Linked DNA regions of Homo sapiens: regions 1, 2 and 3 are each linked to region 4. Evidence: promoter capture Hi-C in human tissues and cell types (Jung and others, 2019). All regions are on one chromosome and are shown on one strand. Each heading gives the region's core, a stretch centred on a gene start or on the middle of the fragment in contact. The rest is flanking DNA. Distances are from core to core; before and after follow the strand shown.

Region 1 (6,906 bases), core at 464-2,963, 1.3 Mb before region 4:
TGGTTCCAAGCTGCTAAGTCGGCCAGCAAGAGAAACAAAACAAAAGCTCCGTAAAGCTCTACCGGCACGGAGTCAGGTGAGCTCAGGGTGGCTGCTGGAAGAGCCATCCACCTGCTCCACCAGGCCTGGTATGGAAGACCAGGCCTAGGGATTTTCTCCCCATGGAAATCTACTCTGTCGCGACTCTTTACAAACAAAACAGCCACTGCTATCCTGAGTATCTAAGAGCAGGCACCTGAAAGTGGGGACGGGGGAACATTTAGGTACAGAATTGAATGTCTCGGGATTCATATTAAGTGTCCACCAAATGATGTACTATATATATATATATAACTCATATGGGATGGAAAGAAAACACTCCTTGCCTGCATTTGGTGATACCACTTAGCCATTTGGTATTCGGGGGTATGTCCAATGTGGATGTCCATGTGTTGGGCCTATAGATGAGTCCAGTGCAAATAATACTCCTGGGAGGAGGAACTCAAAGCTCCAGGCTGTTTTTTCTACTGACAAGCAGTGAACAATCCCTTAACGTGCACCGACTGCATTTTCGTCATGTGAAAGGAGGCTAGGCCAGGTGCAGTGGCTCACACCTGTAATCCCAGCACTGTGGGAGGCCAAAGCAGATGGATCACTTGAGCCCAGGGGTTTGAGACCAGCCTTGGCAACCTAGCAAAACCCTATCTCTACTAAAAATACAAAAAATTGGCCAGGCGTTGCGGCACGTCCCTGTAATCTCAACTACTCAGGAGGCTGAGGTGGGAGAATTGCTTGAGCCTGGGGAGAGTTTGCAGTGAGCCGAGATCACGCCACTGTACTCCAGCCTGGGTGACAGTGAGACCCCGTCTCAAAAAAAAAAAAAAAAGGAGGCTATAACCATCTTTGCAGGTGCTAATTAACCAAATAAACAGATACGCAGGAAAATGCTGGCACACTGAAACCACACTTCTCTGGCACAGTTCTCTGCCTTTCATGTTACTTTGCTTCCTGATATACTACTAAATTCATCCTTAACACATGAGTATTTTTCCCTAAGCCAGAAAGGAGAGAACAGCCTAGCCTAGGTGGTAGCAAGACCGGTTTTCAGTCAGGGAGGGAAAGGCAGAGAAAAATAAGAAGATTCCCTTTGATGAGGGAAGGAAGGGCCCAGGAAGGAACGAAGCTCCAGCTCTACTTGTTCGGCTTGTCTACACTCAGTGACCCCATGGTGCTCCAATCCTGGAGTTAAATAGGTTACCTGGCCCTGAGCTCGGCCAACTGGCCACCCCATCCAAGTTGACAACATGTTTGAAATGGTCACTGGCCTTACCAACAGCAAACGCAGGAGGGATACCAAAGCCACCCCTCCCCAACTTTTGCCTTCCATCTTCCCCAAGCTTGCTAGGCCTCAGGCGAGTCCAAAACACCTGAATGCCACTACAGGCTTTGAAACCATGGTGTGGCCTTGGGAAAGTTACTTAACTACTCAACACCTCAGGGAAATGAGATAATAACAGATGTCCAGCTCCTAGCGACACTCAGCGGACTAAAAGAGATAAAGTATGTAAAAGGCATAGCACAGTGCCTGGCATGGAGTAAGCACTCGATACGTGAACCATTATTAAAGACCAGTCCACTGGGAAAACACCCAGGTGCACAGCAGCAGCAGCTGGGCTTGCACCTGTGAATTGCTCATTTGGGGGCTGATTCAGCAATGTAGTAAGATCTAAATGAATTCTACCTAAAATGAAAGAGCTCACTGCTTGCATCAGATAACCACCTCCTGCTAATCAAAACACATTTTTTTTTTTTTTATGAGACGGAGTCTCACTCTGTCGCCCAGGCTGGAGTGCAGTGGCACGATCTCAGCTCACTGCAAGTTCCGCCTCCCCGGTTCAGGCCATTCTCCTGCCTCAGCCTTTGGAGTAGCTGGGACTACAGGCCCGCCACCACGCCCGGAGAATTTTTTGTATTTTTAGTGGAGACGGGGTTTCACCGTGTTAGCCAGGATGGTCTCAATCTCCTGACCTCGTGATCCGCCCGCCTGGGCCTCCCAAAGTCCTGGGATTGTAGGCGTGAGCCACCGCGCCCGGCCAAAACACATTATTATTCATACTGGCTTTAGAGCTGGCTCTTAGTAACTATCTAATATTGTACTAATCTTTACGAGGCTGGGCGTGGTGGCTCACGCCTGTAATCCCAGCACTTTGGGAGGCCTAGGAAGGTTGATCACTTGAAGCAGGGAGTTCGAGACCAGCCTGGCCAACGTGGTGAAACCCCATCTCCACTAAAAATATAAAAATTAGCTGGGTGTGGTGGCACATGCCTGTAATCCCAGCTACTCGGGAGGCTAAGGCGGGAGAATCACTTGAACCCAGGAGGTGTAGGTTGCAGTGAGCCGAGATTGCACCACTGCTCTCCAGCCTGGCCAACAGAGTAAGACTCTGTCTAAAAACCTTTACAAAACCCAGCAGCACCTCCCTCTCTCCCTCCAATTCACCCAAAGCTTTTTACTTTGTATAGACTCCCAAGAAGAGTCTGTAAAATGAAATATAACTGTACTCAATGATCCCCCACCCCAGTTCCTTTTTTTTTTTTTTTTTTTTTTTTGAGACAGAGTCTAACTCTGTCGCCCAGGCTGGAGTGCAGTGCCGCAATCTTGGGTTACTGCAACCTCTGCTTCCCTGGTTCAAGCGATTATCCTGCCTCAGCCTCCTGAGTAGCTGGGACTACAGACACGTGCCACCATACCTAGGTAATTTTTTGTATTTTTAGTAGAGACAGGGTTTATGTTGTCCAGCTGGTCTCGAACTCCCTGATCTCAGGTGATCTGCCTGCCTTAGCCTCTCAAAGTGCTGGGATTACAGGGATAAGCCACTGCGCCCAGCCCCAATTTAGAATTCAGAATAGTTCATGGTAGTGAAAAGTGTCCAGCATCAACCTGCGACCCAAGCAGGCCAAGGGAATGATGATGTTCTCCCTCGAGAGATTCCTTCCAAGCCCTCACAGAATCATTCTAGAATGAAAGACCATGTACCGGCTCTGTTCCAAGGAGGCCTGAAAAGGGAAACCAAGAGGTGAGGAAGGAACTAAAGAGCCTTGGAAGGAAGGAAGTTCAACACAGCACAGTCAGAGATTCTAGAAGTTAAACCCCAACAAACCTGGAAAACACTCTTAAGAAAAGTAGTTTGGCACCAAGGTCTTTTCAGTACTGGCCCCTGGGAAAAACAGATTTAATCTGTACCAACTACAATCATACATTACTCCAATTTTTTTTTTCTAAAGACAGGTCTTGCTCTGTTGCCCAGGTTGGAATACAGTGATTCACTGCAGCCTCCACCTCTCAGGCTCAATCAATCTCCTGCCTCAGCCTCCTAGGTAGCTAGGAGGACTACTGGCGTGCACCACCATAGCTGGCTAAACTTATTTTTTGTAGAGACAGGGTCTCTCTATGTTGCCCAGGCTGGTCTTGAACTCCTGGCCTCAGGCAATACTCCTTCCTTGGCCTCCCAAAGCACTTGGGATTATAGGTGTGAGCCACTGAGCCCAACCCCATGGCCTAAATTTCAAACAGGATTTTACCTAAACTATGTCAAACAGATCAGTAACCAGTCTATTTTAAAGTCCAAATGATTAGATTTCTTCCAATAGCAAGGTTTAAGTTCTATTAAATCTGTTTCCTCAACACAGCAAGTTTAGAAAATTTCTTTTCATTCTATCCTAAAGGGTATGTATACCTCATGTCTATCCACGTACATGTTGCTAGAGTTTCACATAAAAACACAATCATTTCTCAATCAAATGTTTTCTGAAGACACTGAAGTCACGGGGTTGGTCTCACAAACACACTGAGCACATTTGGCAGGGGCAAAGATCACTTTCTTCCACTCTAGTGTCCCCAAAGTGTTCCATTACTTGAGAGGTCAGGAATTCCTCTCCATGTCTTATAACTACCAGTGGTGCTTCTGACACTATGCTTCACAGAGACTGCCTGCAGCTCCTCTCCTATCCTAGCAGAAATAAAAGTGTTTCTTTTTTTATTTTTTTGTGTGTGAGACGGAGTTTCACTCTTGTTGCCCAGGCTGGAGTGCAATGGCACGATCTCGGCTCACCGCAACCTCTGCCTCCCGGGTGCAAGTGATTCTCCTGCCTCAGCTTCCTAAGTAGCTGGGATTACAGGCATGTGCCACCACACCCAGCTAATTTTGTATTTTTAGTAGAGACGGGGTTTCTCCATGTTGGTCAGGCTGGTCTCGAACTCCTGACCTCAGTGATCCGTCCGTCTCAGCCTCCCAAAGTGCTGGGATTACAGGCGTAAGCCACCATGCCTGGCCTAATAAAAGTGTTTCTATGCAGAGATGGTCCACAAAAATTCTTTTTTTAAAAAAAGTCATTTTTAGCTCCCTGATCAGTTTCTTTGACCACATCCAACACACCCAGTTCAGCAATCCATTTATATCTGAATAAAAAGCTTTCCAAGGCAAAGATGAATTCTGAGGACACACTGGAAATACCGAGTCATCCCCAAGCCCCACCTCATCCTCAAGGGAACTTTCTGAGGAGCTTCTGGATGGGAGATGCAGCTGCCTTTTTAAGTGGCATAGCATATCCATATTTGGCCAGCTGTGAAAACAGATGTAAGCTCCAGTAAAGGCCTGTCAGTAAGCAGAATGGTCTTTCATTCTGGAATGATTCTGAGGGCTAAGAAAGGACTTAACAGTAAAAGCTAAGCTACACAAACCAGGCTAGAAAAGAGAGTTAGGTTTAAATCATACCCTGGGCAACTGACTCAACCCTTCTCTTGCTCAAAGCCTCCATTCCCACCCACCACCTCTGTTAACATTTTCCCACTCTTCCAGCGCTAAACACCCCAACTAGAATGTACTCCAGGCTGGCAGAGATATGGTCTGTGTTGTTCACTACCGTAACCTTAGCACAGTGCCTGACGCAAAATAGGAAATCAAGACACAATTGATCAATAAATGAATGAACACAGCACAAAATGTCTAGACGCTATATCCTCTGGGGGAGGGAATGGTATAGTATCACCATTAAAGGTTCAACCAACCTCACTCTATCATCCACTGACTTTAGGATAACTTTATTCAACCCCTCTGGGGCTCTGTTATTCACCTCTAAAATGAAGATAACAACACAATCTACTTCATAGGATTTCTGCAAAAATTAAATAAGATGATGTACATCAGGCACTTAGCACAGTGGAGGCCCAGAATAACTTGTAGTAAATGCTAGAGGCATGCTGACTGACATCATTGCTGCTTTGCCCCAAGCCAGAGTCATCACCATCAGCTGGAAATTTCATTATCCCAAGTAAAAGCTCTCCTTAGGGAGGCTGGGCGCGGAGGCTCACGCCTGTAATCTCAGCACTATGGGAGGCCGAGGCGGGAGGATCACAAGGTCAGGAGTTCGAGACCAGCCTGACCAACATGGTGAAACCCCCATCTCGACTAAAAATACAAAAATTAGGTGGGCGTGGTGGCACGTGCCTGTAATCCCAGCTACTCAGGAGGCTGAGGCAGGAGAATCACTTGAACCCAGGAAGCAGAGGTTGCAGTGAATGGAGATTGCACCACTGCACTCCTGCCTGGGCAACAGAGTGAGACTCCATCTCAAAACGAAACAAAACAAAACTCTCCTTTGGGAAGGTTTCCAATAAATGCTTCATTAAGGGAATAAGGATAGGCCGAGCATAGTGGCTCATGCCTTTAATCCCAGCAGTTCGGGAGGCTGAGACCGGAGCACTACTTGAGTCCAGGAATTAGAGACCAGCCTGGGCAATATCATGAGACCTCATCTCTACAAAAATCAATCAGTTAGCTGGGCATGGTGGTACATGCCTGTAGTTCCAGCTACCTGGGAGGCTGATGTGGGAGGATTGCTTGAGTTATGATGGTGCCACTGCACTCCAGCCTAGGCAACAGAGCAACATGTCTCAAAAAAAACAGAGAAATAGGGATAATTGAACAAGCAGGATCCTTATTCAATACTTAACACTCCTTCCCTCAAAAGGATGTATCTTTTGAATTAAAAAGAAACCTAGGCTGGCACAGTGGGTCACACCTGTAATCCCAGAACTTTTGGAGGCCAGAGGTGGGAGGATCACCTGAGGTCAGGAGTTTGAGACTAGGCTGGCCATCATGGTGAAACCCTGTCTCTACTAAAAATACAAAAAATTGGCCAGGTGCAGTGGCTCATGCCTGTAATCCCAGCACTTTGGGAGGCCAAGGCAGGCAGATCACCTGAGGTCGGGAGTTCGAGACCAGCCTGACCAACGTGGAGAAACCCCTTCTCTACTAAAAATACAAAATTAGCTGGCTGTGGTGGCACATGCTTGTAATCCCAGCTACTCAGGAGGCTGAGGCAGGAGAATCACTTGAACCGGGAGGCAAAGGATGCAGTGAGCTGAGATCGCACCATTGCACTCCAGCCTGGGCAACAAGAGTGAAACTCCGTCTCAAAAAAAAAAATGCAAAAAATTAGCCAGGCATGGTGGCACGCGCTTGTGATCCCAGCTACTCTGGAGGTTGAGGCAGGAGAATCGCTTGAACCGGGGAGGTGGAGGTTGCAGTGAGCTGAGATTGTGCCACTGCACTCCAGCCTGGGTGACAGAGCAAGACTCCATCTAAAAAAAAAAAAAAAAAAAAAAAACCACACACAAAACAAAAAAAAAAATTATAGAGTCAGGGTTGGACTCTTACATTTCATTGAAAATCCTTAAATAACAAATTATGTCAATATAGATTTAAATGCTTACTGTGTGTTACGTGGATACTGCATGAAGGATTTTACATATGTTTTTCTCAATCCCCAACCCCAATAACGTATAGATACTACTATAAATTCATTTTACAAAGGAACAAAAACCAAAGCTTAAAAGAAAAAGAAAAACCAAGGTTTTAAGTTAAA
Region 2 (6,318 bases), core at 3,489-5,988, 1.2 Mb after region 4:
ACTCAGTGGCGTAGTCACACCTCACTGCAAAGGAGGCTAGGAAATGTAGTCTTGTTCTGTGTCCAGGAGGCAGAGGAAACATGAGAGCTAGTCTGCCATGCCGGCCTATGTCTTATAGAGCCTTGCTGTCTTAATTTAAATTTTAGTTCCTCTGGGAAGAGATCCTGACTCCCTCAGGTCTGGATTGGACACCCCTCCTCTGTACTTCTTCCCTTCCTCTCTTGTGGCATTTATTGCATGGAAATACACACACAGACACACACACACACACACACACACACACACATATATATATATATATATATTTGAGACAGGGTCTCACTCTGTCATTGAGGCTGGAGTGCAGTGGCACAGTCATGGCTCACTGCAGCCTCAACCTCCTAGGCTCAAGCGACCCTCATATCTCAGCCTCCCAAGTAGCTGGGACTACAGGCATGCACTACCATGCCCAGCTAATTTTTGTATTTTTTTTTGTAGAGATGTGGTTTCACCACGTTGCCCAGGCTGGTCTCGAACTCCTGAGTTCAGGCAATCCTCCCACCTCGGGCTCCCAAAGTGCTGGGATTACAGGTGTGCACCATCACGCCCGGCTGGAATTATAATTGCTTATGCATCTGTCTCCCTCATTAGACCGTGGGATCTAGGGCAGGGGCTCCATCAGTTTTGTCACTGATGAATTCCCAGCTGTGACATGGAGCCTGGCACAAGCCAGTGTTAAATAGTTGTTCGATGGATGATGTCTGGGATAATGACTGAGGGGGCAGAGGAAGTGGTTGCGATTGGTCTCTTGGGCTCCCCCCAGAGTGGTGTGCTCCCCTCCTCCGCTTTCAGTCAGTTTCAGAACCATGGGACAGCTTGTCCGGGAACAGGGCTGGAAAACCCTCTGAGGTTGAGGTTGGGGCCTCTGTTCTTTAAGAGTGGAACTGAGACGTTGCGTGTGGTCACAGGTTGTCTGCACCTCTGCACCTGGCACCAAGGAGGACCCCACACAGACGTTCCCTCCATCAGTGAATTCCAGCACATGTACCCTACAGAGCCCGGCTTTGAACTTAGGCAACATAAACCACCACCATAAGGATAAAGCAATAGATTGCACTTACTTATTTACGATTTAAGTCTTGTTCACTCCCCAAAATTTTTGCAGTAGCTTACAAAGTGAACACAATGAGAAAGAAGCTTGAATAGAAGAGAAAAACCGGTCAAAGTGATATTAGATCACTGAAAATCTGATGGCTCCAGGAATAACAAGATAAGTGGTGTTTAATTTTTATTCTTTGTTTCTAAGTCTTTATTTTGGGACAAGTTTTAGTTTTTTATAGCTGACCTCTTTTTGTCCTCCTTTCCCCCCTCAATGCCTCTGGGTAGCTGGTATTTGCAAGTCTTGGCATATAACAGATCAGGACTGGGGAGGGGCCTGTGGTCAAGTCTTGGCCTCTCTTTTTGGGGTTCCAAGCACCTCTTCAGACCCAACCCCTCAAGCTCATCTATCGCTCCTTTTCCCTGACTACAGCTCCCTCTCCACAGCCTGATATTAAGATGACGGTTGGCCAGGCACAGTGGCTGACACCTGTAATCCCAGCATTTTGGGTCACTGAGGTGGGAGGATTGCTTGAGGCCTGGAGTTTGAGACCAGCCCAGACAACACAGCAAGACTCGCCCCCTCCCCATCTCTATCAAAAAATAAAAATAAAAATTAGCAAGGCGTGGTGGTGCAAACTTGTGGTCCCAGTTACTCTGGAGACGGAGGCAGGAGAATCACTTGAGCCCGGGAACTTGAGGCTGCAGTGAGCTGTGATTGCACCACTGCACTTCAGCTTGGGTGACAGAGTGAGACTCTGTCTCAAAAAAAAAGAAAGAAAGAAAGATGAAGGTAGTGTTCATGAACAAAACCATAGTCCTTACATACTGTGTATGAGAAACCTCATTTAACAAGACAAGGGGATGGTACAGCATGGTGGTAGGGCAAGAAATCCCAGCCTGGCACCTCCTGGCTGGCGATCTTGGCAAGTCACTTCATGGCTCTGAGCCTCCATTGACTCATCTATGAAATAAGATCATGGGACCCAGATGATCTGAAAATGCCCTCAGAGGGGCAACATATTACATCAGGTGGACTTGAAGGAGGACAAGTGAATCAGTCTGCTGCTCTCATTAGCAGCTTGGCGGTGGGGAGGGTCGCTAAGCCTGCGGGGAGAGGGAGGAAAGAGGGATGGCACCTGTGGGGGCACCTGACTTGGGGCTCTTTGTGGAGAGGAGTCTAGGGCATGTGTCATCTCATCATGTTCTGGGGGTAGCTGAGTTTAGGGGAGGGGAGCCACCGTTTCTCCCAGGGACCTCTCCCCTCTTTATGCATGTTGATTACAGGGACCCTACAGATTGACTTTGGAATGGGAGAGTGGGAGTCTTGTCTCTGGGCTCGCGCCCCTGGAGAAAGGGAGGGTAAGGTGCAGCTTGGGGCCTGGGCTGAAGTAAGCCTGGCCTGTGCCCCTAATGAGGCAGGGAATCTGAGGGAGGACGGAGGTATCTGTAGGCTGAGGTGCACCAGGCCTCAGCGAGATTTATATTCTAGAAACTTCTCTGGCCCCCACACAGGCCAATTCTGTGCTGATTCATAAAAGAGAAGAAGAAGAAGGAAAAAAAAAACACTCTAGGTTCCAAAGGAGCAAATTTGTGTGAGTTTTACAAAGTCAACCTGAGCTGGAGAAGGGGTTTCCCCCAAACTCTCCCTGCACACCCAGCAATTCACTAAGAGCCTGGGAGTGTGCTGGGAGGTGGGCTGGGAGGAGGCGGGGATGGAGAGTGGGGAGGGGGACTGGGGAGGGTGCTTGTCTTCTCCTAGGACATTTATCACCAGGTTGACAGTCCGTGACCCCCCGCTTCTCATAGACTTTCCGCTATGTCACTCTGAGGCTGCAAAGCCCTGCTTGAAACCAACTTCTCTACCCTGTAGTATAATGCATCAATGTACAAAAACAACAGAAATATTTACCAAGGGGAAAAACATCCCCGATAATCTTATCACCCCATCAGATGAACTGTTTCCATTTTTCTGGGCTTCCTTCCATCCCAGTCTTCATAGTTGAATCATAAATCAACTACACTTATGGTATTAACTTTTTTTTTCTTTCCTAACGTGGTGTGATATTGGGCGAGTTTCAGTTTCCTCATCTGTAAGATGAGACCCTCATAATACCCGCCTCACACAGTGGAGTGAGCCTCAAATGAGATTCTGATTGTAAAGCACTTGGCATGGGGCCTGGCATATAATAGGTGCTCAATGAATGATTAGAATTTTTCAACTCTTTATATTATTGTGATAAAGAAAGTTGGAACTATTGTACTAACTTTAAAAGAAGCCTGGTTATAGTGAAATATCTTATATGATTATCCATTAAAGGTTTGCATCAGCAGATGTACATGTGCCCTATTATTCCACAACTAGGGGAGCCAGCCCCTGTCCATGTGGTCATTTTGGGGGTGGGGATGGGGCAAGGTGGTCTCATTATAGCTGAGACCTTTTCTTTTCTTTTCTTTCTTTCTTTTTTTTTTTTTTTTTTTGAGACAAAGTCTCACTCTGTCCCCCAGGCTGGAGTGCAGTAGCGTGATCTCGGCTCACCGCAAGCTCCATCTCCCGGGTTCACGCCATTCTCCTGCTTCAGCCTCCCAAGTAGCTGAGACTACAGGTGCCCGCCACCATGCCTGGCTAATTTTTTGTATTTTTAGTAGAGACGGGGTTTCACCGTGTTAGCCAGGATGGTCAGCTGAGACCTTTTCTGGCCTGAGTGCATGGTAGCAGGCCATGCTGATGTCACCTTTCTTGAAAGATGGGGAGATTCCAACACCCCATCTTCCCATCCCCATGATGCCCAAAGGGTCCCTGGGAATCTCAGCTCAGTTGTCCTCTCATTGTGTGTCATGGGAGAAGCGACCTTTAGATGTTCGCACAGGTGAATCAAAGTGCTGGACCCTTCCTCTACCATGCTGCAGAGAAGGGGTGGTGTTGGGGAATATTAAGTGGTGCATCTCTGCATAGCTAAAAGGCTGAGCTGGAGCATGGGCCACCGGGGCATGTGTGGTTTTGCTGAGCTTCCATTCTCTGGCCAGTGAAATGAAGTCTGTGAACATGGCGGTCATGGAGCTAAGTGATTCTTGGCTTTGGGAAGGAAATTGGCGATGTCACCGGACATTTGCCCCAAAGACTTGTCACATGATGTGAGACCTCTTTGCCTCTGAGTCACATTCTGAATCACAGGATATGGCCATATTAATGATGGCAGAGGCTGCCATTAACCAAGTGCACCCAAGCTGTAAATTCATGGAATCCTCCAAACAGCTCCATGATACATATACTGGTAATATCTTCATTTTTCAGGTGAGAAAATTAAGATGCGGAAAGATTAAATAATTTGCCTAAAGGCACATGGTTTGCAAGGGGTGGAGCTGTGATTCAATTCAGTCGTCTGATTCTAGCTTCCCCCATCCTTTTTGGAGGAGGGAAGTATCATAAAACTGTTGATTTCATTTAACAGAATTTTAAATGAAGTCTCTGCGTAGATGAACATAAGAGATAGCTAAAATCTCAATGTGAAAGGATATCCTTTCATAGAGTTTCTGAGTTTCAAGGTCCTTCCAACTGCTGACATTTGACATTTGACACCTTGAGATTTTGTCTACAGAAAGTAGCAACATCATCCTTATACAAAGACCCAACTGCGTGAGGTTGTAGTTCCGAGAGTTTCAAAATTAGTTTATTTTCTTTGTGTCAAATTTCAGTGCCATTTTCTTCCTCATTACCTCCTCCCCTCACCCTTTTCCCCTTCTCCTTTTTCTTTTTTCCCCTCCCTCTTCCTCCTCTTCCTCTACCTCTTCTTCTTTCTCTTTTCTTCTTCTATAAATTATCAAGCTATTTGAAAACACTTAGGACCTCTGTTCATTTCTCTTCATACATTAAGGTAATAGAAATTGGCCGACTTCCAGTCCCACAACAACCCTAGGGGTCACCTGATATTATTGATGGGAATTTAGCCAACACCATAATTTCAAGTTTGGCAACCATATGGGTAACAGCAAAAGAAGCTGAAAGCTTAAATTTTCCGGAGTGGTAGAATTTGTTCCAGAATGCCGGTCAAGATCCCAAATGTAGGTAGGAAAACATAGATGTCATTTGGGTTGTCCAGAGCTGGCAAGCTTCCAAATGTGCAAAACCACGGGAGGTGGGAGGTCTTCTGCTTTTGCAAAGCTTATAATACCACAGGAAGCAGCCAGACAGTCCACTCTAGAACATTCTGCCAATGAGAAGATACTGCAGAGCATGGATAAGTCACCTTTTGAGAGCCCATGCTCCTAACCAATCTGCCGTGTTGCATTTTCACTTTGAACCACGATAAGACCATTGGAAATTAGGAAAGGAATCATGTTGCCCCGACTTTTCATTCTGAAGAAGTTCTAAGGAGTTGGAGATAACATTTTTCATAGACTCTTAAAGTTTTAAGCCTCCCTAAAGGCTTCCCTAGAGTAGATCAAGCATCCTCAGCCTACAGATGAGGCCACTGAGGCTGGACCAACGGCATCTTCAGGGTCACACAGCTAGTTAGTGGCAAAGCCAGAACCAGGTCCCTAGTGATGGATTCTCAGTCCCTGGTTCTCTCTGCCACACCACATCATGTCCCTCTCAACACCAAAGCTGGAGTGGTGAGAAAAGGCTTCACAGAGGAGGAGGAGGAGGAACGTGATCTAGGCCTTGAGGGATGGGGTGTGGGTGGGCTCGAAGGAGGGGCCAGGCTTTCTAATGCCACTTTAGTTTCCTTTGTGACATTCCCAAGGGATTGTTAGCTCCTTCAAGGTAAGTAGGTCTCCCACCTTCTGCCCTATTGCAGAGTTCCTGGCATGAGGTGGACACAAAACCCTAACCCTCTTCTCCAGGGAGTGAAACTCCTTATTTTTAAGACATTTGCCAAAGCATCGGGCCCTGAATAGAAACTCAGCTTCTATTTTTCTGCTTCCTTCTTTACTTCCTACAGATGACACTTTTGAGAGCGTGCTCTCAACTACAGTCCCCTCAGCCCCTGTCTGTGGGAGCTGTCCAGCGCCCTCTGTAAGAGTGGGCTCTGGCAGCCATGTTTGTAAGACCCCCAATGAGTGACTGAGGGGCCCAGGAGTAGACTCTTGACTCAAAGTAGACTCATGAGAGTCCCTCTCCCAGTTTGGAATTTTGACTTTGAGGGGCTTCTCAGACTCCTCTGATGGCTTGGACTGAGGCAATATTGGCTCGAGGAGCTGGGGGGTGTCCATCCTCAGACACGTGGGGAAGGCCTGTGC
Region 3 (7,391 bases), core at 4,094-6,593, 1.2 Mb before region 4:
GGGTTGGGGATTGAGAAAAACGTATGTAAAATCCTTCGTGCAGTATCCAGGTAACACACATAAGCATTTAAATCTATATTGACATAATTTGTTATTTAAGGATTTTCAATGAAATGTAAGAGTCCAACCCTGACTCTGTAATTTTTTTTTTTGTTTTGTGTTGTTGTTTTTTTTAAGACGGAGTCTTGCTGTGTTGCCCAGGCTGGAGTGCGGTGGCGCGATCTTGGCCACTGCAACCTCCGCCTCCCAGGTTCAAGCGATTCGCCTGCCTCAGCCTCCTGAGTAGCTGGGACTACAGGCGCGCGCCACCACGCCCGGCTAATTTTTGTAGTTTTAATAGAGGCGAGGTTTCACTATGTTGGCCAGAATGGTCTCGATTTCCTGACCTCGTGATCCGCCCGCCTAGGCCCCAAAGCGCTGGGATTACAGGCGTGAGCCACCGTGCCCGGCCTTCTGAATGTATTTTTAAAGTAAAACTAGTCCATGTTAACATTGGGTAACTACTTCAGACCTAACAGGAATTTGGAATTTTCAAGTTATGTTTTTGTCCACAGACAAATTAGCAGTTTACTTTTCTTATTTACACATGATTTAGTGAAAATTTACATTATTTTATAGCTTTGGAAGCAAAGGAATCATTTATCAATCTTAACATCTTGCTAAAACAGTCTGTATTTTAGAGATCTCTTGATTGACTTTTCAAACACTATCACTGCCATTCACAAAAGGGGATTTTTGATTCTTCTTAAATAGCTTTTCTACCTTTTTTTGAAAATTGAAAGTTGCTGAAACTAGAAGAACAAAATTCCACTACCCAGAATTATTGGTATTGGCTTTTAACTTTTTATTTAGACATAATTTCAGATTTACAAAAAAAGTTGCAAGAATAGTACAAAAGAAATCTCAGCTATCTTTCACCAGATTCCTCAAATGTTAACATTTTGCCAATTTGCTTTATCCTTCTCTTCATAGGTTTCTTCTGAAATGTTTTGCTAGTAAGTTGCAGATGTGATGCCCCTTAACCCATAAATACTTAAGTGTATTTTCTAAAAATTAGGACTAGTCTTACCTAACAACAGTACGACAATCAAAATCAGGAAACTAACACTGATAAAATACCTAATCTACAGTTCTTAAATAGATTTTGCCGATTTTTCTGAGTTGGTGTACTTTTTTTTTTTTTTCCTTTTTGGAGATGGAGTCTCGCTCTGTCACCCAGGCTGGAGTGTAGTGGCGCGATCTCACCTCACTGTAACCTCCGCCTCCCGGGTTCAAGCAATTCTCTTGCCTCATCCTCCATAGAAGCTGGAATTATAGGTGCCTGCCACCATGCCTGGCTAATTTTTGTATTTTTAGTAGAGACGGGGTTTGACCATGTTGTCCAGGCTGGTCTTGGAACTTCTGACCTCAGGTGATCCACCCGCCTTGGCCTCCCAAAGTGTTGGGATTGCGTGAGCCACCGCACTTGGCCAATATGCCTTTTTTAAAATGGCAGCTATATGAACTATATTGACATAGAAAATTCACCTGTAAGTGCACAATTCAATGATTTTTGGTAAATATACAAAGTTATGCATCCATTACCCCAAAAGGATTCCTTCTGTCTGTTTGCAAGTCACCCTGTTCCACCCCAGTTTCAGGCAAGCCCTCATTTTTCTGTATAGATAGTAGTAGATAGCGCTGCTTTTTTGTTTTATTTGGTTTTTGAGATGGGGTCTCTTTCACCCAGGTGGAGGGCAGTGCTGCGATCTTGGCTCACTGCAACTTCCGCATTTCAGGCTTAAGCAATCCTCCCACCCCAGCCTCCCAAGTAGCTGGGACCACAGGTGCACGCCACCATGCCTGGCTATTTTTTTGTATTTTTGGTAGAGATGGGGTTTCACCATGTTGCCCAGGCGGGTCTGGAACTCAGGCTCAAAGGATCCACCTGCCTCGTCCTCCCAAAGTGCTGGGATTACAGGTATGAGCCACTGTGCCCAGCCTTGTTTTTGTTTTTAAAAAGATGAATTCTTCCTGTGTTGCTCAGGCTGGAGTGCAGTGGCTATTCACAGGCGTAATCCCACTATTGATCAGTTTGGGAGTTTTGCCCTTCTCTGTTGGCAACCTGGTGGTTCTCTCTCATCCCAGGAGGTCACCATATTAATGCTGAATGGACTTAGCATGAACACCTGATCAGTAGCGTGCTGCAGCCCAGAACTCCAGGGCTCAAGTGATCCTCCTGCGTAGCTGTGACTATAGGCAGGCACAGGAGTGTTGCTCTTTAATCATTGAAAATGGTAAAACAACAAAAGTGGCAATGTCAGAAAAAGATCAACTCTTTTTTGGAGATTTCCAAACAATTGAGTATTTTCATACTTCTGAAAAGCTTTGCTGTAAAAGTAGTTTTTCTGTTAAGCATTTCCCATTCTTCTTTGGGCATAAAACACTTTTTTTTTTCTAGGAATAATTCCTGCAGACCTGACACATAATTGGAAGTAGATATTGAATGAATGAGTGAGTTGTATGTGAATATTTGCTCAGAGGAATCTCAGTTCATTATCATTTCAGAAATTTGGCACGTAGTGTACTGATGGAGCTAGTCTAAAATAATCTATCCTGGGAGAAATAATTTTGTTTCTATCTGGATAAGTCTACAATAGAGGAATGCTTATTAGCAGTGTTTTGCTGTATTTTGCATACTTGCAGTATTCTTAAGAGTGCAGAAAAAAATAGTTTGAAAGATTCAAAGAGAAAAAAGTGAAAAAAGAAAAGCTGAGTGCATGCATATGTTGAGTACTAGAGATATGTCTTCAGGGTTTCTTTTTGGACCAGATTTCTTGAGATAAAATTTGCATACAATAAAATGCATCTGTTTTAATTTCAATGAGTTTAGACAAATGCATATACTTGTGTGACCACCGCTACACTAGAGGTAGGGAACCCTTCTATCATAGGTTTCTGTTATTTTATTTAATTTTTGGGGGGCCTCACTCTGTCGCCCAGGCTTGAGTGCAGTGGTGTGAGCTCGGCTCATTGCAACCTCCACCTCCCGGGCTCAAGCGATTCTCCCATCTCAGCCTCCTGAGTATCTGGGACCACAGGTGCATGCTACCACACCTGGCTAATTTTTTGTATTTTTGGTAGAGATGGGGTTTCACCATGTCGCCCAGGCTGGTCTTGAACTCCTGAGCTCAAGTGATCTGCATGCCTTGGCCTCCCAAAACGCCGGGATTACAGGTATGAGCCACTGCACCTGGCCCAGGTTCCTGTTTTTATTATCGTGGGCTATAGAGTTTCTTTTTTTTGAGATGGAGTCTGGCTCTGTCGCCCAGGCTGGAGTGCAGTGGCACAATCTCTGCTCACTGCAAGCTCCGCCTCCCGGGTTCACGCCATTCTCCTGCCTCAGCCTCCCGAGTAGCTGGGACTACAGGCGCCTGCCACTATGCCCGGCTAAATTTTTGTATTTTTAGTAGAGACGAGATTTCACTGTGTTAGCCAGGATGGTCTCGATCTCCTGACTTCGTGATCCACCCACCTCGGCCTCCCAAAGTGCTGGGATTACAGGCTTGAGCCACCGCGCCCGGCCCGGAGTTTCATACTTAGCAGGAAAAGGTGCTTTGAACCTTCTAAAATGTGAGGTACTTTCAATATTTTAAAAAATGCTATGGAAATGATTTCAGTGCCATAAGATAACTCTGCATTTCTCTCTTTTAAATCCCACATATTATACAATCCCTCAGCAAATCCTATTGGCTGCCTTCAAAATATATCCAGGATCCAACAACTTGATAGCACTTTCACCACTACCACCTGTTCCAGGCCACCATCTCTCCAGGCTACCATCTCTTATATGGATTATTGTACCAGTCTCTTGCTTGTATCCTGTTCCCTTCCAGGCTTAACACAGTGGCCAGTGATACTGTTAAAATGTGACAAGTCAGAAACTCTTCAAATGATTTTCACCTCATTCAGAGTTAAAACTAAAATGTTTATTTACATTGTGTTACATAGCCCTACACTCTACTCATAATACTCAGTATTTATTTCTGATTTTCTTCATTTATTCTGCTCCAGTCATACTGTTGGCCTTGCTATTCCTCCCTCAAATACACCATTCCTGCTTCAGCCTCTTTGTATTTGTCTTTTCCTTTGCTTGGAAGTCTCTTTCCCCCAGATATGAATAGGGCTTCCTGCCTCTGCCTCTTTTAAATCTTTGTTCTAATCTTCACCTTCTTGGTGAGGCCTAATCGCTGTATTTAAAATAAACTACTCCATAGCTCTCTTCCCTAATTTATTTTTCTACAAAGTACATACCATCTTTCAATGTATTATAATTTATTTTGTTTATCATCTATAGGTAACAGATAAGCTTTGCTTATGATTATGAAAGTTAATTCTCAATCAGTTTCACATGGCAAAACACATAAACCTGTGTTGAAATAAGTAGTTGGTAATCTTTTAGGCTGCTTAAAGTGGACATTAGTATTTATCAAAGATGAGAAATGTTTTCTGATTTTCCATGAGAGACCAATCTTTTTTATTTTTGTTTTGAAATGGAGTCTCGCTCTGTCACCCAGGTTGGAGTGCAGTGGCGCGGTCCCAGCTCACTGCAACCTCTGCCTCCCAGGTTTAAGCAATTCTCCTGCCTCAGTCTCCCGAGTAGCTGGGACTACGGGCGCCTACCACCATTCCTGGCTAATTTTTGTATTTTTAATAGAGACGGGCTTTCACCATGTTGGCCAGTCTGGCCTCGAACTCCTGACCTTGTGATCCGCCCGCCTCAGCCTCCCAAAGTGCTGGGATTACAGATGTGAGCCACCGCGCCCAGGAGAGGCCAGTTATCTTAAAGGAATATCCATAAAAATTAGCTGTTAACTGGTATTTTTGCCTTCACCTTTGAAGTCCAGCCTATCAACAAGCAAGTTTTGGCAGCTCCAAATAAAGGGGAATATGTTATGGAAAAATTTGAAGTGAATGGAATGGGTATATTGGCATAAACGAAAATTAAATATATCTGGTTAACTCTGCAGAATGAATTACACATTTAAAAACCATAAAATATAACTTAAATACCAAGAATATAGAGTTTTACTTTTTTTTTTTTTTTAGACGGAGTCTTACTCTGTCGTTCAGGTTGGAGTGCAGTGGCGCGACCTCGGCTCACTGCAACATCTGCCTCCCAGGTTCAAGCAATTCTCCTGCCTCACCTTCCAGAGTAGCTGGGATTACAGGTGCGCACCACCACACCTGGCTAATTTTGTTTGTTTGTTTGTTTGTTTTCTTTTGAGACAGAGTCTCACTGTGTCACCCAGGCTAGAGTGCAGTGGCGCGATCTCGGCTCACTGCAACCTCGGCCTCCCGAGTTCAAGTGATCTCCTGCCTTTGCCTCTTGAGTAGCTGGGATTACAGGCACCCGCCACCACACCCAGCTAGTTTTTGTATTTTAGTAGAGACGGGGTTTCACCATGTTGGCCGGGCTGGTCTCCAACTCCTGACCTCAAGTGATCGGTCTGCCTCGGCCTCCCAAAGTGCTGGGATTACAGGGGTGAGCCACTGTGCCCAGCTAATTTTTTTTTTTTTTGAAACTGAGTCTTGCTCTGTCGCCAAGGTGGAGTGCAGTGGCGCAGTCTTGGCTCACTGCAACCCCTGCCACCCAGGTTCAAGCAATTCCCCTGCCTCAGCCTCCTGAGTAGCTGGGACTACAGGCGCACACTACCATGCCTGGATAACTTTTTGTATTAGATACGGGGTTTCGCCGTGTTGGCCAGGATGGTCTTGATCTCCTGACCTTGTGATCTGCCTGCCTTGGCCTCCCAAAGTGCTGGGATTACAGGCATGAGCCACCTCACCCAGCCCAGTGTTTATATTTTTAGTGGAGACAGGGGTTTCACCATTTTGGCCAGGCTGGTCTCGAACTCCTGACCTCCAGTGATCTGCCCGCCTTGGCCTCCCAAAGTGCTGGGATTACAGGTGTGAGCCACCGCCCCTGACCGAGAGTTTTAGTTTTTAAGCATTATTTATATCTAATATTATTGGGGGAAAAGTGGTTTTAAAAATGAGTTCATGGCCCAGTCTTGTAACCATTGTGAGGCTAGGCACTGGGCCATTGCTAGAATATAGTATGCGGCATGAGATAGCATAATAAATTTGTTTATTGAAGTCCTCAGAGTTTGTTTACTGATTTATTCATTAATCAGTTTATTCAACAGGTATGAAAACCAACTATCCTAAGAAAGCACTGAGATAGGCTATTATAATGATAATAGAAGAGCTTCTGTAAGTAGGACAGTAGCCCTTTCTGTTTTAAAAAGAGATACCACCCCCAGTTTTTGGTTTTGGTCAAAAAGTTTTACAGAAAGTTTATTTTAAAACTCAACACATTTACAGTCTTGCAATCTTGTGTTTTTCATTGTTAATATGTACTGATAACCTACCTACTGTTTAAAACATTTCTAATACCTCATTTGCCAAGTATATTAAATCCTCCTAAGGGCTGGGCGCAGTGGCTTATACCTGTAATCCCAGCACTTTGGGAGGCCGAGGCCGACGGATCACTTGAGGCCAGGAGTTTGAGACCAGCCTGGCCATACATGGTGAAACCCCGTCTCTACTAAAAATACAAAAATTAGCTGAGCTTGGTCGTGCGTGCCTTGTGGTGTGCACCTGTAATCCTAGCTACTTGGGAGGCTGAGGCAGGAGAATCGCTTGAACCCGACAGGCGGAGGTTTCAGTGAGCTGAGATGGTGCCTCTGCACTCCTGGGTGACAGAGCAAGACTCCATCTCAAAAAAAAAAAAAAAAAAATGCATCCTAGGGATTCCTTTACCTATAAAGTTTTCTAAATATTTTAAGTATACTGTGTTTTCTGAAATTGAAGTTTAGTTTTATTGAATATGGTATTATCCCAATTTAAGTCAAAGGAATTCTGAGGAAGTAGAGCTGTGAGCATGTAGGTCATGCTTTTCTGTTTTAAAGAAATGTCTAGTAAACAGGTAAACGCATACTCAACCTCATTAGTCATGAGGGAAATGTAAATTGAAATAAGAGTATATTTTACTTATGAAATTGTGAGAATTTTGACACTGATCTATTCTACCAATGATGAGGATATGAGGAAAGGGCATACCCATATTCTGGTGGTGGGAATATACATTTATATGCTAGTTTTCAGGGATGATTTTGGAGGTAAAGTTTGGATACATATAATTTTTTTTTTTTTTTTTTTTGATGTGGATTCTTGCTCTGTCGCCCAGGCTGACGTGCAATGGCACCGTCTCGGCTCACTGCAACCTCCGCCTCCCAGGTTCAAGCGATTCTCCTGCCTCAGCCTCCTGAGTAGCTGGGACTACAGGCACCTGCCATCACACCCAGCTAATCAGATACATATAGTTCTAACCTGTATTAGAGAATTAC
Region 4 (6,323 bases), core at 2,003-4,502:
GGAGGGAGAGGAGTAAGAAATCAGTGATGAGGGGTTAAAAAGAAGGGAGGCTTCTTCCTGAGTCCCTGCCTCATCAGCACCCCAAAGAGATGAAAAGGGGCCGGGCGCGGTGGCTCACGCCTGTAATCCCAGCACTTTGGGAGGCTGAGGCGGGTGTATCACCTGAGGTCATGAGTTCGAGATCAGCCTGGCCAAGATGGTGAAACCCTGTCTTTACTGAAAAATACAAAGTTTAGTCGGGCGTGGTGGTGGGTGCTTGTAATCCCAGCTACTCAGGAGGCGAAGGCAGGAGAATCACTTGAACCAGGGAGGCAGAGGTTGCAGTGAGCTGAGATTATGTCACTGCACTCCAGCCTGGGCAACAAGAGAGAAACTCTGTCTCAAAAAAAAAAAAAAAAAAAAAAAAGATGGAAAGGGACCCCAAACCAGAGCTCCCCTCCCTCCTCTAGTCTGGGCTCACTCACTCACCCAGTAGGGTCAGGCACAAAAGGGTCAGGAACATCAAGGCATTTTGTGATGACCAAGAAGGAAACAAAACCTTCAGTATCTGCAGGAACCGCTGGAGAAATTGCAGATCTAACCTGGGCCTGAAGAGAAGGTGGGGAGGCAGAGAAAAGCCCAAGACAATAATTAAGCCTTAGGGAGTAGTTATTAAGCTCATCCACATTGTTCTGTAGAGGGTCCAGGCCATGCAGAAAGAATGGTTTTCAAATGCTGAAGATGGTAGGCTGGGAACAGACCACGGATACAAAGGAAATTCTTTGGCCAAGCGTGGTGGCTCATGCCTGTAATCCCAGCTACTCGGGAGGCTGAGTCAGGAGAATTGCTTGGACCTGGGAGGCAGAGGTTGCAGTGAGCTGAGATTGCGCCATTGCAACAAGAGCCTGGGCAACAAGAGCAAAACTCCGTCTCAAAAAAAAAAAAAAAACCAAAAACAAAAAACTTAAAAAATTACAAATGGATTAAAAATCTAAACGTGAAAAGTAACACTATCATGTTAATAGAAGGAAATGTAGAAAAATGTCTTAATGAAGATACCTTAAAAACCTATACAGGGGAAAACTGATGAATTTAACTTCATTAGAGTTAAATGTTTTTATTCAACACAGTGCCATAGATTAAGTTAGAAGACTTGGAGGTGGTATCTGCAGAGTGCAAAACCAACAAGGACTTGAAATCTTTATTTTTTTGAGACGGAGTTTTGCTCGTTGCCCAGGCTGGAATGCAACGGCGCAATCTCGGATCACTGCAACCTCCGCCTCCCTGGTTCAAGTGATTCTCCTGTGTCAGCCTCCTGACAAGCTGCAATTACAGGTGCATGCCACCACGCCCGGCTAATTTTTGTATTTTTAGTAGGAGACGGGGTTTCATCATATTGGTCAGGCTGGTCTCGAACTCCTGACCTCCGGTGATCCACCTGCCTCGGCCTCCCAAAGTGCTGGGATTACAGGCGTGAGCCACCGCGCCTGGCCTAAAATCTTTTTTTTTTTTTTTTTGAGACAAGGTCTTGCTCTGTTGCCCAGGCTGGAATGCAGTGGTGCGATCTCAGCTCAGGGCAACCTCTGCCTCCCGGGTTCAAGCGACTGTCCCACCTCAGCCTTTTTAGTGGCTGGGAGTACGGGCGTGCGTCAACACGCTCAGCTAATTTTTGTATTTTTGGTAGAGATGGGGTTTCACCATGTTGCCCAGGCTGATCTTGAACTCCTGGACTCCAGTGGTCCACCTACCTCAGCCTCCCAAAGTGATAGGATGACAGGTGTGAGCCACCGGGCATGGCCAGGATCTAAATCTAGAGCCTACAAGAATTCCTGCAAGCCAGGAACATAGGAAATCCACAGAGAAGTGGGAAGGGATATAAACAGGCAATTCAAAAAAGGGAAAACCCACGTTTAATAAACACATGAAAATGTAGGCCGGGAGCAGTGGCTCACGTCTGTAATTCCTTTATGCACTGCCCGTCGGGAAGTGTAATCCCTGCACTTCGGGAGGCCGAGGCGGGTGGATCACCTGAGGTCAGGAGTTCAAGACCAGACTGGCCAACCCCCCCATCTTTGCTAAAAATACAAAAAATTAGCTGGGTGTGGTGGCGCGCGTCTGTAATCCCAGCTACTCAGGAGGCTGAGGCAGAAGAATCGCTTGAACCCGAGGCGGAGGTTGCAGTGAGCCGAGATCATGCCACTGCATTCCTGCCCGAGCAACAAGAGCAAAACTCCGTCTCAAAAGAAAGAAAGAAAGAAAGAAAGAAAATGTACACGATGGGATACCACCTTACACCCCCCAGACTGATAAACATTACAAAACCAGCCGCCACTGAACGATGGAGGGATACCGGGAAACAGGAAGCTTTATGCACTGCCCGTCGGGAAGTATAAACTAGTGTGACCATTCCAAAGAACAATCCAGCAAAATTAGATATGACCAGGACCCAACTCTGGGGTGGATACCCAGAGAAATGCAACAATATGCACAAGGAGACAACTGCCAGAATATTCGTTACAGTGTGGCTTGTGGGGGTGTTAATACTAGAAAAAAATCTATCCACCACTAGGGGAATAAGTCTATGCACACAGCACCCCTCATGCAAGCACTCAGAAGTGAAAACAAGATGACTAGCATGGATGGACTCAAAAACACAATGTTGAGGAAAAAGGTTTAAAGAAAAATCACAGCATATTATATTGAAGAATTCGAAACCGCTATATAGATTTCAAAGTAACACTTGCACAAATTTACCCAAGGTGGACCGTAAAGCCACTTATATAACACACCAGAGTGGCTGTCTGAAAAGGGGAGTGAAAGGGGTCTGGGAATAGGAACGAAGAGAGGAAGTGATAAAATAAACAAGGAGCCTTGCATTGGCCCACAGGGTGTCAAGAACTGAGAAGGATCAACTCAATTTTGTGCACCTGAGGTTCTTCTTTTCAAAAAAAGAATGCCAGTTGCGAGGGTGAGGGTCCCACACCGCAGGAGATGGCACAAGTCCGGCCAAGAACGGAGGGGGCCGCGGCCGGTGCGGAGCGGCCTAGAGCGGCGGGAGGGCGGACGCCCCTTCGAGAGCTCCTCTTTCTCTCAGAAGTCACGGGGGCGAGACGGGGGCGCCAGGGCGGCGGACGAGGCACGGAGGGCAGGAAAGCCCATTCCCTACAGCCCGGAACTCCTGCTCCCAAACCTCCTCCCCGACCGCCCTGCTTACCTGGCGCCAGCTCCGGGCGCGGGCCCCGCGACCGCCATGACCTGAGACCCGAGGGACTCTGGAGCCCAGCTGCCCCTAGTTCAGTACTGGGTAGAGTCCGAGGAGGGGCGGGGCCCCGGCTACCACAGAGACGGCGTTTGATAGAGAGGAAGGTGCGGGAGACGCGGACTCTCCCGGAAGCGACCGACGTCTCTAAAAGTACCAGAGAGTGGACTCGGCTGACCCGGCGGCTACAGCGCCCCCATATTTTCTGGGAGACTTCCCTTTTGACAATAGGTATCCGAGAGTGTAACTACTTTATGGCAAGTATTTTAGATTCTGTGTATAATAGATGTTTTACATATTCTCCCAGAGAAGCCAGCATGATCTTTAAAAAAGTATAAATTAGGCTTCCAGCCGGGCCCGGTGGGTTACTCCTGTAATCCCAGCACTTTGGAAGGCCAAGGCGGGAGGATCGCTTGAGCCCAGGAATTCAAGACCAGCCTGGGCAACATGGCAAGACCCCGCCTTTACAAAAGACAAAAGCATTAGCCGGGGATGGTGGCGAGCGCCTGTGGTCCGAGCTACTCTGGAGGCTGAGGCAGGAGAATCACTTGGGCCCGGAAGGTCAAGGCTGCAGTGAGCCGTGACTGTGCCACTGCACTCCAGCCTGGGCGACAAAGAGAGACCCTGTCTCAAAAACAAATAAATAGATGATAATGATCGATAGATAAGATAGATAGTTGAATGAATGAAATGCTTATCAGTTGACTGATTAGTACCCAAAGGGAGGTGGGAAATGGCTCAAAAAAAACCCAAACAGCATGATCCCACAGGTCCCTAAATTTGAATCTGGATGTGTCTTCTCACTTTCCTCCAATCCTTATTAAGTTTCAACTGCAAGCCAAACACTCTACAACATGCATGTATCACTTGTCTTTATGAAAGTTGCAGTCTAGCTGGGTAGGTCAATCAGTTGACAATTACAGATTTTTTTTTTTTTTTTTTTTTTTTTGATACGGAGTGTTGCTTTTGTTGCCCCGGCTAGAGTGCAATGGCGCGATATCGGCTCACGGCAACCTCAGCCTCCCGGATTGAAGCCATCCTCCTGCCTCAGCCTCCCGAGTAGCTAGGATTACAGGCATGTGCCACCACGCCCAGCTAATTTAGTATTTTTAGTAGAGACAGGGTTTCTCCATATTGGTCAGGCTGGTCTTGAACTCCTAACCTCAGGTGATCTGCCCGCCTTGGCTTTCCAAAGTGTTGGGATTACAAGAGTGAGCCACCGCTCCTGGCCTTTTTTTGTTTTTGTTTTTGTTTTAGACGGAGTTTCGCTCTTGTGGCTCAGGCTGGAGTGCAATGGTGCTATCTTGGCTCACTGCAACCTGTGCCTCCCGGGTTCAAGCGATTCTCCTGCCTCAGCCTCCCGAGTAGCTGGGATTACAGGCATGCACCACTATACCCGGCTAATTTTGTATTTTTAGTAGAGACGTGGTTTCTCCATGTTGGTCAGGCTGGTCTCGAACTCCCGACCTCAGGTGATCCACCCACCTTGGCCTCTCAAAATGCTGGGATTACAGGTGTGAATCACCGTGCCCGGCCTACAGCTGTCTTTATGAAGTGCTATGACAAACATACCATACAGCAGGGGTTCTCAACTTTGGCGCCATTAAGTTTTGGGGCCTGATCATTCTTTGCTGTGTAGGCTTTCCTATGCAATGTAGGATGTTTAGCTGTATCCCAGGCCTCTACGCACTAGATGCCGGTGGCATTCCTTCTGACCTAGGCATCCCAAAATGTCTCTAAACATTGCCAAATGTCCCTTAGGGGAGAAAGGACCAAAATTCCAGCTTTACCCCACCCCCTAGCATTGAGAACCACTGCCCCAGAACCAAAGAGAAAGGCATTTAACTCAGCATGGGGAAAAGTGGAATCTAGAAAGACTTTGAAGAGGAAATAACTTTATTCAAGTATGTCTTTCTTATTTTGAAAACCAAAAAAATAGGATGCAATTTTTGAAAAATTAATAAGGCAACCAAAGTATTAAAGCAAGCAACGTCACCTCTCTAGGGTAATCTAGGTTTACAGATCTTGTCCCCTTTCAGTCTCAAAAATGTCCTAGTTTGGTATTCGGTGGCATTACTGTCCCAGGGTGCCTCAGCATTGTCTATTACTGTAAACTTTTAAGAAGTAGCAGGCTGGGCACGGTGGCTCACGCCTGTAATCCCAGCGCTTTTGGAGGCCGAAGCAGGCAAATCACCTGAGGTCAGGAGTTCAAGACCAGCCTGGCCAACATGACAAAATCCCGTCTTTACTAAAAGTACAAAAATTAGCCAGGTGTGGTGGCGGGTGCATGTAATCCCAGCTACTTGGGAGGCTGAGGCAGGAGAATTACTTGAACCCAGGAGGCGGAGGTTGCATTGAACTGAGATTGTGCCATTGTACTCCAGCCTGGGTGACAAGAGTGAGACTGTTTCAAAAAAAAAAAAAAAAAAGAAGAAGAAGAAGTAATACACCAGAGTTACCAGTGAGCAAGCGGGAGGCTACTGGAGTGCAGCAGAGCAGAGTAATGCCCAAATCAAAGGAACTTACTTCTTCAAGCTCTTCTGGCAGCGGTTCTGACAGTGATGTTGACAAAAAGTTAAAGAGGAAAAAGCAGGTTGCTCCAGAAAGACCTGTAAAGAAGCAAAAGACTGGTGAAACTTGAAGAGCTCTATCATCTTCCAAAGAGAACAGCAGCAGCAGCACAGATGATAACATGATGTTTCAGGTTAGGAAAATGAGGTACATTAGTGTTTGGGATTTTTTTTTAGACTTGTCCCCCAAGGCTGGAGCGCAATGGCACGATCTTGGCTCACTGCAACCTCTGCCTCCCAGGTTCAAGCAATTCTCCTGCCTCAGCCTCCTGAGTAGCTGAGACTGCAGGCACTCGCCACCATGCCTGGCTAAGTTCTGTCTTTTATGTCGAGACAGGGTTTCACCATGTTGGCCAGGCTGGTCTTGAACTCCTGACCTCAAGTGATCTGCCCACCTTGGCCTCCCAAAGTACTAGGATTACAAGTGTGAGCCACCAAGCCGGGCCAGTGTTTGGGATTTTAAAGGGTAATTGATATTAAATAATATTGGATGGATCCAGAAGGTGAAATGAAAC

Evidence for each region. The method cuts DNA at HindIII sites, captures the fragments that hold promoters and counts their contacts. A contact is called where the count stands out against the background at its distance.
Region 1: a contact is called between a fragment that was not itself captured here and the fragment with the promoter of ABCD4 in region 4, in 1 of the 25 tissues and cell types used here (neural progenitor cells).
Region 2: a contact is called between a fragment that was not itself captured here and the fragment with the promoter of ABCD4 in region 4, in 1 of the 25 tissues and cell types used here (liver).
Region 3: a contact is called between a fragment that was not itself captured here and the fragment with the promoter of ABCD4 in region 4, in 1 of the 25 tissues and cell types used here (liver).

What each region holds. Positions count from the first base shown.
Region 1 is chr14:73,004,145-73,011,050 of GRCh38, forward strand. The region is part of intron 2 of ZFYVE1 (zinc finger FYVE-type containing 1); the gene reads right to left. Among named protein-coding and RNA genes, the nearest start is that of ZFYVE1, 20 kb to the right of the region's middle. The HindIII fragment of the contact is 3,507 bases long and covers 1-3,467 here.
Region 2 is chr14:75,490,869-75,497,186 of GRCh38, forward strand. No RefSeq gene overlaps it. Among named protein-coding and RNA genes, the nearest start is that of BATF, 28 kb to the right of the region's middle. RefSeq lists an enhancer at 6,263-6,318. The HindIII fragment of the contact is 3,218 bases long and covers 3,130-6,318 here.
Region 3 is chr14:73,059,884-73,067,274 of GRCh38, forward strand. All of the region lies in intron 1 of RBM25 (RNA binding motif protein 25), which reads left to right. Among named protein-coding and RNA genes, the nearest start is that of RBM25-AS1, 4.1 kb to the left of the region's middle. RefSeq lists enhancers at 5,065-5,565, 5,566-6,066. The HindIII fragment of the contact is 8,376 bases long and covers 1,156-7,391 here.
Region 4 is chr14:74,299,682-74,306,004 of GRCh38, forward strand. It overlaps ABCD4 (ATP binding cassette subfamily D member 4), which reads right to left and starts at 3,253. Exons shown (of 19, transcript NM_005050.4): 1 at 3,194-3,253; 2 at 469-587. The coding sequence starts at 3,231. It also overlaps a transcript of VRTN not described here and the pseudogene SUB1P2. RefSeq lists a silencer at 3,002-3,081 and an enhancer at 3,342-3,701. The HindIII fragment of the contact is 36,493 bases long and covers 686-6,323 here.